Linked DNA regions of Homo sapiens: region 2 is linked to region 1. The links are contacts of gene promoters, found by promoter capture Hi-C in blood cells and fetal thymus (Javierre and others, 2016). All regions are on one chromosome and are shown on one strand. Each heading gives the region's core, a stretch centred on a gene start or on the middle of the fragment in contact. The rest is flanking DNA. Distances are from core to core; before and after follow the strand shown.

The links. Contacts are between HindIII fragments. The CHiCAGO score rates a contact against its expected background, and 5 or more counts as called.
Region 2: a contact is called between a fragment that was not itself captured here and the fragment with the promoter of MYCBP2-AS2 in region 1, in 3 of 17 cell types (total B cells, monocytes and naive B cells). The highest score is 8.2, in total B cells.

What each region holds. Positions count from the first base shown.
Region 1 is chr13:77,079,041-77,083,603 of GRCh38, forward strand. It overlaps MYCBP2-AS2 (MYCBP2 antisense RNA 2), which reads right to left and starts at 2,150. Exons shown (of 2, transcript NR_170173.1): 1 at 1,874-2,150; 2 at 1,471-1,621. It overlaps MYCBP2 (MYC binding protein 2), which reads right to left. Exons shown (of 83, transcript NM_015057.5): 63 at 3,992-4,152; 64 at 2,797-2,953; 65 at 2,387-2,611. MYCBP2-AS1 (MYCBP2 antisense RNA 1) reads left to right here. Exons shown (of 4, transcript NR_046716.1): 3 at 3,970-4,072. The HindIII fragment of the contact is 5,615 bases long and covers 1-2,298 here.
Region 2 is chr13:77,247,169-77,251,731 of GRCh38, forward strand. MYCBP2 (MYC binding protein 2) reads right to left here. Exons shown (of 83, transcript NM_015057.5): 15 at 3,983-4,187. Among named protein-coding and RNA genes, the nearest start is that of MYCBP2, 78 kb to the right of the region's middle. The HindIII fragment of the contact is 5,367 bases long and covers 1-4,563 here.

The sequences.
Region 1 (4,563 bases), core at 900-3,399:
CGGTTCCTATAACTTTAGTCTCATTCTCACAAACTCCATCTTAAATTGCACATTTCAGCCTCTCTCCAGGTGCTCTCTCACAGCTTGACATTCCCTCTCCTTATTCAAAGTCTAAATATTCAGATTCCTTCCTCATGAAGCCTTTCAACAAATCTGCTTGTCACTTATGTCAGACTCTTGTTGCTATATTTTCATTACTTTTGGAAGTATAAAGAGGGAAGGTAACTGAACTAACAAATACTTATGAGTGTCACAATGTACCCAGACTTCCTTACAGATTTGAAGTAGGATATATGAGAGGAGGTTCTATCCCCCAAGATACTTGCCAAACTAGGGAAGGCAACATTAATACACAAAATAAATGTCAAACAGTACAAGTTCAATACATGTTCAAACTAGTGTCAAATATCTTAAGGCTGAATAAGTTTTACGCAAAGCACATCAAGAAATAGATTAACATTAATTCCTTGGAGAGCTGCATAATATGAGTGCTGTAGGCTGATACAACTCAAATCAACAAATGCTGTGTACAAGGCTCTGTGGTAGGCAGGTTGAGGAACATGGAGGTACATAACTCAAGGAAAACATACATACAGGTTGAGTATCCTTTATTAGAAATATTTGGGACTAGAAGTGTTTTGGATTAGGGATTTTTTAGGATTTTGAAATACTCTATTTGCATTATCCTTACTGGCTGGGCACCCCAAATCTGAATATCTAAAACCAGAAATGCTCCAATATGCATTTCCTTTAAGTGTCATATCTGTGTTCAAAAAGTTTCAGATTCTGTAGCATTTTGGATTTTCAGATTTGGAATGCTCAACCTATAACATAGAGGAAGCCTGTTAAAAGGAAAGTAGATGTCAGCTTACATGTTGGGAATTTTGAAAATGAATACTGTTATGATTATTTCCTCTTAGAAAAGACAGAAGTGTTAAATTGATTGCAATCATTGTTCTGAGGGAGAGTATGTCCTTGCTTAAAATGTACCATGAGCCAAAGATAGCTTTGCACTGAACAGTGAGTTCTAGCTACAAAAATGTTTTGCTTTGTTACACTTGACTTTCCAGTAAGATAAAGTAGTTACACCAGTGGAAATTCTTAGGTCTGAGGAGGAAATAGCTCATATTATATTAGCTAAGCCTCTTTTACTTACTCAATACCAGGGAGGAATAGAACCTGCACTGATGTACAGGAGTTGGAGGTTGCTCTGATTGCAGACTGGCCTGCATCCAGGTTATCTGAGACCCAATCCTACCACTGTGGCTCTTCCTGAGAAAGGAAATATGCAAATGGCACAGGAGAAGCCAGGCAATGGTTCAAGGAGAGCCATTAATACTGTATCTGCTAGCAAGCCACATCCATTCTGAGGAAAAAAATTCTAAATGAGGTAGAAGAAAGGCAGTCTGGCAGTTAGTGCTATTTCTTTCTTGGTTGTTAATACTCAAGCAAATAGGACTCTTTTTTCTTGTTTAGTGCCTTTTATAAAAGAATATTTAATTCAGTTGAAACACATGGATGAACTAGGCTGAAGAGAATATAAATTATGATTATTTGGGACAGTCTGAAACTTATTTTTTATTTCATGAGGACTGTGGCAAAGTAGACACTTGAAGATAGGCTGGGTGCAGTGGCTCATGTCTGTAATCCTAGCACTTTGGGAGGCTGAGGTGGGCAGATCACTTGAGGCCAGGGGTTTGAGACCGGCCTGGACAACATGGTGAAACCCTGTCTCTACTAAAAATACAAAAATTAGCCAAGCATGGTGGCGTGTGCTTGTAATCCCAGCTACTCAGGAGGTTGAAGCAGGAGAATCGTTTGAACCTGGAGGCGAAGGTTGCAGTGAGCCAAGATTGTGCCACTGCACTCCAGCCTGGGTGACAGAGGGAGACTCCATCTCAGAAAAAAAAAAAAAAGCTGATTACACTATAGGTCAAAGATTATTATTAAGTGCCACCAGAGTAATACAAAAAGAATCAGCAGAGGGAAAGAGTAATTTTTTAGAGGAGTTACTTAGAATTTCTCTGCTGAGTTTGAGAGACCCTGGAAGAATTGATCAGCAGAGTTTAAGGGGAGGACTTCCAGGTCACGGGAAAATCTTAACCAAGGGAATGGCAGCAGAAAATTGTAGAGCAGACTTTCATTTTGCTTAGCTGTAGCCATGGTATATTTGTAATCAGACCTCTTTTCAGAAATGGAATTCCACAGTGCTCCCAATCATATTAATTTGTTTTTAGACTTAAGATTTATTTGGGGATTATAGCAATGATGTTTGGTTGGTGAAATTCCAGGTGATAAAGCTTGTTGCTAAATTCAGAAATGAAAGTGCATGAATACTAAGATCTGAAAAGAGCTAAAGAGCCGTAAATCACGTTTGCTTTCTTACCCCAAGATCTCGGGAATTGTCCACGTGAACAGACACATAGCGGGCATTGATTCCTTTTACACAGTTGATGGTGATGTTCTTAGTTTTGTTTTTATCTTCATCTCCTGATTCCCAAAAGGTTTCTGTGGAGCCGTCTGTCAAACTGCCAATCATGGCAGGTCGGCTTGAAGTTTTTATGTCAACAATGCTGGTTAAGTCCTTTAAGCACATTACTATGCATAATTCCTATCAGAAACAAATATAAGTACTTATGATACTTAAAAGCAAATCTTTCGTGATGATAAAACAAACAGGTATAAGATAAAACATAATGGAAGACAGGATCAAATTGATTATGAATAACTTACAGTTTCTCCTTTGATGTATTATTAACTAACAGGACAACCAGGATAATAACTGAAATGACTGACCTGACTCATAGCTTCAAAGCCAGACTGTATACTGATGCTAAAACTCTCTTCACTATCGCCATCATCTGACTTTGACAAAATATTGTTAATGTGATGAAAGACGTTGCTCTGATGAAGGAACTGGTGATCAGATTGCTTGAATTTGAGACTCCAGCACCTAAAAAGGCGATATATAAGCAATATACGAAATAATTATTTTCCAGGAACATCTAAGGAACTCTTAGATGAGTACTCTGTAGCTAATATCTCAAGAAATTTTAATGTTCTAGTAACAGACATTTTAAAAATTCAGGGAAGAAAATCATTCCTATTGTTTTTGTTTTTGAGAAATAAAGGTAACTTCTTTGGAACAAGGTAAATTCTAAGGAAAGTTGACCCATTTTAAATATAAAAGAATTAGACAGATGAAGATCAAGGCTACAGAAGCAAAAAGGGTAATGAATCTATTGTGTAAACAAGTGGTACACCAACTGCAACAACCCCTCAAATTTATTACTCTTACAATGCCATACTAATTCATCAGGGTATAGTTTATCTTGTAGTTCAAAAATCTTGTGAGGAGGACAAAGAGAAATCTCTCTTCCACTGGTCTTATCATTAGTAACATGGGAAGCCCAAGCATTCCATCAATCTATTTCTTGTATACATTAATTAGGAGAATTTATTTATAAGTGTGAGTCCAGTATGTGAATCTAGTAACAAGGTTCACAGTGTAAAAGCAATGCTAAATTCTCAACACATTTCAAATTGAAATTGGAATCTGTTGAGCATCTGTGATGCTCCTTAAGGTGCTTTTAGGACTGGGTGCATACAACCAGGCTCTGTTTTCCCCAAGATTCTTTTCAAGTCAAAACTCTATTTTGGTTTTTGTTTTTGAGATTTCATTTTCCCTCTCTCTTTTTGGGACATTTAAGTGATTTGAGGTAGGAGACTGGGGAAAGTGAGGGAGATTGCTACAGTGATAATTTAGGGCACTAAGAATTACATTAGCCACATTTTACAGGAGGGCAAACAAATGTTAACTAAGAGGAAGGACCATTCTAAAAATTATGACTGTAAGGAGGGAGGCACCATCTATATAATGTAGGGATTCTATCTTACTATTTAAAGAGCTTTTTTTGGAGCATTTCATACTTTGAATATTCCATAAACTCTCTTGTCCAATGTACCTAGGATATGTGGATACCAAAATTACCTCAGGGCCATTTGCTGTAATGAACTGCCGCTGGGGAGAGACATCATAAGGTCTGAGATGGTCTGCAGCAAGCGGTGAAAGGTGTGTGGTAAAGGATGAGCAGCTTCCCCGGCAATCACTATGTCTGAGAGTGGATGTTCACATACTCTTGTATCTTTCTCCTAAGGCAGAAATTGAAACAAGTTTATCAGTTTGTGTGCTGGAAGGAATCCTCTTCACAAAAGACTATTATGTATACTTAAAAAATGGTCATGTAACAGAAATACAAACAACAAAACCAAATTGTACCCAGAAAGATACAGTAATTTTAACTAATTATGCTTGTATTATTTTAGGGAAAAAAGCTGTAAGTTTAGTCACAAGCAAAATCAGCATGCAAATGAATAAATGTATCAATTCTAGTGTACTCACAAAGATACCTGTAGGGTGAATCCACATGTGTATGCATGTGTATGTGTAGTGTGTGTGCATATATATGTATGTGTATGGATATATACACATACATATATGTAGGTATGTTTTGTGTGTATGTTTATGTATAAAAAATAACATATGTTTAGAAGTTGGGGTGG
Region 2 (4,563 bases), core at 1,294-3,793, 170 kb after region 1:
TCTATGTTCACAGATAATACAATCTCATAAGTAGAAAACCCTAAAGATTGCACTCAAAAAAACCAATAGAGAAAATGAATTCAGCAAAGTAGGAAGATACAAAGTCAACACACAAAAATCAGTTGTATTTCTAGACACTAACAATGAACAATATGAAAAGGAAATTACAGAAACAATTCCATAGCATCAAAAAGAATACACTTAGTAATTAACCAATGAGGTGAAATGAGAACTACAAAACATTGCTGAAAGAAATTAAAGATGACATAAGTAGAAACACATCTATGTTCATGGATTAGAAGACTTAATGTTTTTAAGATGTTCATACTACCCAAAGCAATCTACAGATTCATTGTAATCCCTATCAAAATCCCAATGATGGTTTTTACAAAATAGAAAAACCTATCCTAAAATTCATAGAAAATCTCTAGGGACCTCAAATAGCCAAACAATCTTGAAAAAGAAGAACAAAGTACTCGGTTTTGACTTCAAAACTTACTACAAATCTACAGTAATCAAAACAATGTGGTGTGGCATAAAGACAGTCATACAGACCAATGGGATAGAATAGACAGCTGAGAAATCTTCCTTCACATATATGGTCAGATGATTTTTGACAAAGGAGCCAAGATGGTTCAATAGAGAAAGGATAATCATTTCAATAAACATTGCTGGGAAAACTTGATCTGGACACTTCTCTAGCAGCATATACAAAAATTAACTCAAAATGAATCAAAGACCTAAATGTAAGACCTAAAACTATTACAAAAAAAAACAAAAAACTCTTAGAAGAAAAGGAACATCACACACCGGGGCCTGTTGTGGGGTGGGGGAAGCGGGGAGGGATAGCATTAGGAGATATACCTAATGTTAAATAACGAGTTAATGGGTGCAGCACACCAACATGGCACATGTATACATATGTAACTAACCTGCACGTTGCGCACATGTACCCTAAAACTTAAAGTATAATCAAAAAAAAAAAAAGAAGAAGAAAAGATAACAGTAACCCTTCACAACACTAGATTGGGAAATAATTTCTTGGATATGATACCAAAGGCACAGGCGACAATAACCAAAAAACAATAGACAACTGGACTTCATGAAAATTTTAAAAATTTTCTGCTTGAAAAGACAACATCAACAGAGTAAAAACACAACCCACAGACAGAACTTTTTATTTTCAAATCATATATCTGATAAGGAATTAATATTCAAACTATATAGAGAATTCCTAAAACTCATCAACAACAACAAAAGAAACTGACAACCTGATTCAAAAGTGAGCAAAGGACTTGAATAGCATTTCTCCAAAGATCTACAAATGGCCAAAAAGTATATGGAAAGATGCTGAACATCACTAATCACTGGAGAAATTCAAATCAAAACTATAATGAGATACTATCTCACACCCATTAGGATGCCACTACCAAAATAACAGATCATAAGTGTTAAGAAGGATGTGGAGAAACTGGAACATCTGTACACTATTGGTGGGAATGTAAAATGGTTGGCCGCTGTGAAAAATAGTATGGCAGTTCCTCAAAAGATTAAAAATAAAATTACCATATAGTCCAACAATTCCACTTCTGGGTATATGCCCAAAAGAACTGAAAACAGGGTCTCAAAGAGCTCCTTGTACACTCATCTTCACAGCGCATTACTCACAATAGTTACAATGTGGAAGCAACCAAAGTGTTCATCAGTGAGTGAATGGATAAGCAAAATGTGGTAATATACATACAATAGAATATTATTCAGCCTCAAAAAGCAAAGATGTTCCGACATATGTGACAACCTGGATGAACTGAGGATATTATGCTAAGTGAAATAAGCCAGTCACAAAAAAGACAAATACTCTGATTCTCTTTATATGAGAGGTACCTAGAGTAGTCAATCAGACACAGAAAGAAAACAAGAATAGTGGATGCCAGAGGCAGGGGAGAGGGAAGAATGAGGAGTCATTGTTTAACAGTTACAGAGTCTCAGTTTTACAAGATGAAAAGTTATGGAGATGCATGGTGGTAATAGTTGCACAACATTATGAATGGATTTAATACCACAGAACTGTCTACTTAAAAATGGTTAAGCTGGTCAATTTTATATGTACTTTATCATAATAAGATATGTAGTCACAATTTTATAATAATTGAAGTCAGCTTAATAGTCCTTAATATTCTGATATATTCAGTTTGCTTCATTCATAAAGCAATTATTATACTTGGTTAGTATTGTCCATGTAAGTCTATGAATAATTATTATAAATTATGTAAGTCTCTGGAGGAAAAAACGAAGAATAATTAATTTCAAAAGGGACCAGATAATTTATAGATTTTGTTCACGATATATACTGGCTGCTTAAGCTCAGAGAGTGGGGATATTAAATTTTATTTTTATTATATATTTTTTGAGTTAGGGGTGTTGCTATGCTGCTGAAGCTGGTTTCAAACTCCTGGCCTCAAGTGATCCTCTGGCCTCAGCCTCCCAAAGTGCTGGGATTACAGACATGGGCCACTACACCCAGCTAACACTGAATTTTAATGGAAATAGCGTTGGAGAGATCCAGGAGAATAAATTTCAATTCCAACATTGTTAAAAAATAATCAGAGTCTTTCTGCATCCAAATTAAATTTAAAAATAAAGAAGTTAGGTGCTTAAAAAACAGAAAACAGAGCCAAACATAAAGCACTACAGAATAAATATTATCCTTTGATAAAGACGACTTTATTGCTTATACTAATAATGTAAAGAAAATTTGTTTTTAAAAGTTCATGGCCGGGCGCGGTGGCTCACGCCTGTAATCCCAGCACTTTGGGAGGCCGAGGCGGGCGGATCACGAGGTCAGGAGATCGAGACCATCCCGGCTAAAACGGTGAAACCCCGTCTCTACTAAAAATACAAAAAATTAGCCGGGCGTAGTGGCGGGCGCCTGTAGTCCCAGCTACTTGGGAGGTCGAGGCAGGAGAATGGCGTGAACCCGGGAGGCGGAGCTTGCAGTGAGCCGAGATCCCGCCACTGCACTCCAGCCTGGGCGACAGAGCGAGACTCCGTCTCAAAAAAAAAAAAAAAATCATATCTCAGCAGCCTTAAAGAAAAGGCCTGTTATATATGACCTATTTAACTATGAAAGGCCAAATATAAACTTAGAAATAAACTCCTATTAGATCCAGACAATATTTGGGAAGAAGCAACTATTACAGAGTTGACAAAGAGGAAGGTCAAGAGGCAGGGATGGCTGTCTTCCTTCTGGGCTTCTCTTCACAAAATTTTCTCTACTCCCCCAAATCAGCCAATTATTACAAAGCTGATCACACAAAGAATATCCCATCATGTTATAGTGGCTATAACTAGCAATGTAGAAAATAGATTCAAAATTCTTCCTAACATCCTAGCAGAAAACCTGCATTCTTATTCTGCCAAACTTACATATTAACTGTAAATTGACAATAATATAGAACCCTGAAAAATGTGGTCCATTGAGAACAAGGATAAATATAGCAGGTATGATGTAACTTTAGAAGCAAGCATACAACGTTTCTAAATTTATAAATGGTACATTTAATTTAAAACAAAACTATATATCTAATCAAGTACTCTTTATGATATCGATAATTTTATTTAGAAAAGATTCATGTTCAACAGAAAGAAATATAATAGATATCTAGCATTAAATAGGCTTTGAAAAATAATACAAATAAAAGTACAGCCCCAAGTCTTGAAAAACTTATGGTCTGTTTTTAAATAATGGTTTAAATGAATCAAATGAAAGAAAGGCAACCTTAGAGATGACATTAAATTATAAATTATTATAACAGAAAACAATTATAAGAATTATAATACTTTCTTGGCCTTTTGGCTAAGATCAAGTGAAGATGCCACTGGTCTTTAAGAAAAAAATATTAATAGTAGAGTATACTCCGGAATGATTTTGCAAAGAAATGTGTTCTGCACATGTTCTTTAGTAGGAATCATTGTCTCTTACCCTCCGGGGACTCTGTCTGGCCGTCCACTACTGACACAGCTGGCTCCATAACCTGTACAGTCTCCACAGACAGTGCAAACCATGCACTGCTCCAGCTTCCATTTGTGCATGCCTGGAGGGCACATCATAGACTTCTCATCTTTTTCATCTAGTTCTTCTTCCAGGTCTTCATCCATTGCTGTTGCCATATTTTCAACTCCAAACCCTATTTGACAGATCAATTTGTAATTTTTATACAGGTTACTTTCATGTATAAAAGATGGATGACTATATTTCCCAGTTTAAAAAATGACAGCATGCTAATCCAAGCAATTATACAAAGAAATGCTTAAATTTGAGTAACAAAAATAAATTTTAATTTAGGGACCACTAATAAACACTCTCCCCATTTCATTTCTGCAAAAGAAGGCAAGGAAGGCTATTGTCAAATGTCTCTTGGCTGTTACCTTCTGTCAATCATACTTTTAAATCTTTTCCTGTTTTCCATCCTCACTACCAACACTTTCATTCAACAGACCAAAGAAAGCCTCCCAACCATGCTCCAAGCCAAGAGTTCCCCACTCTAGATCATCCTCCTACTG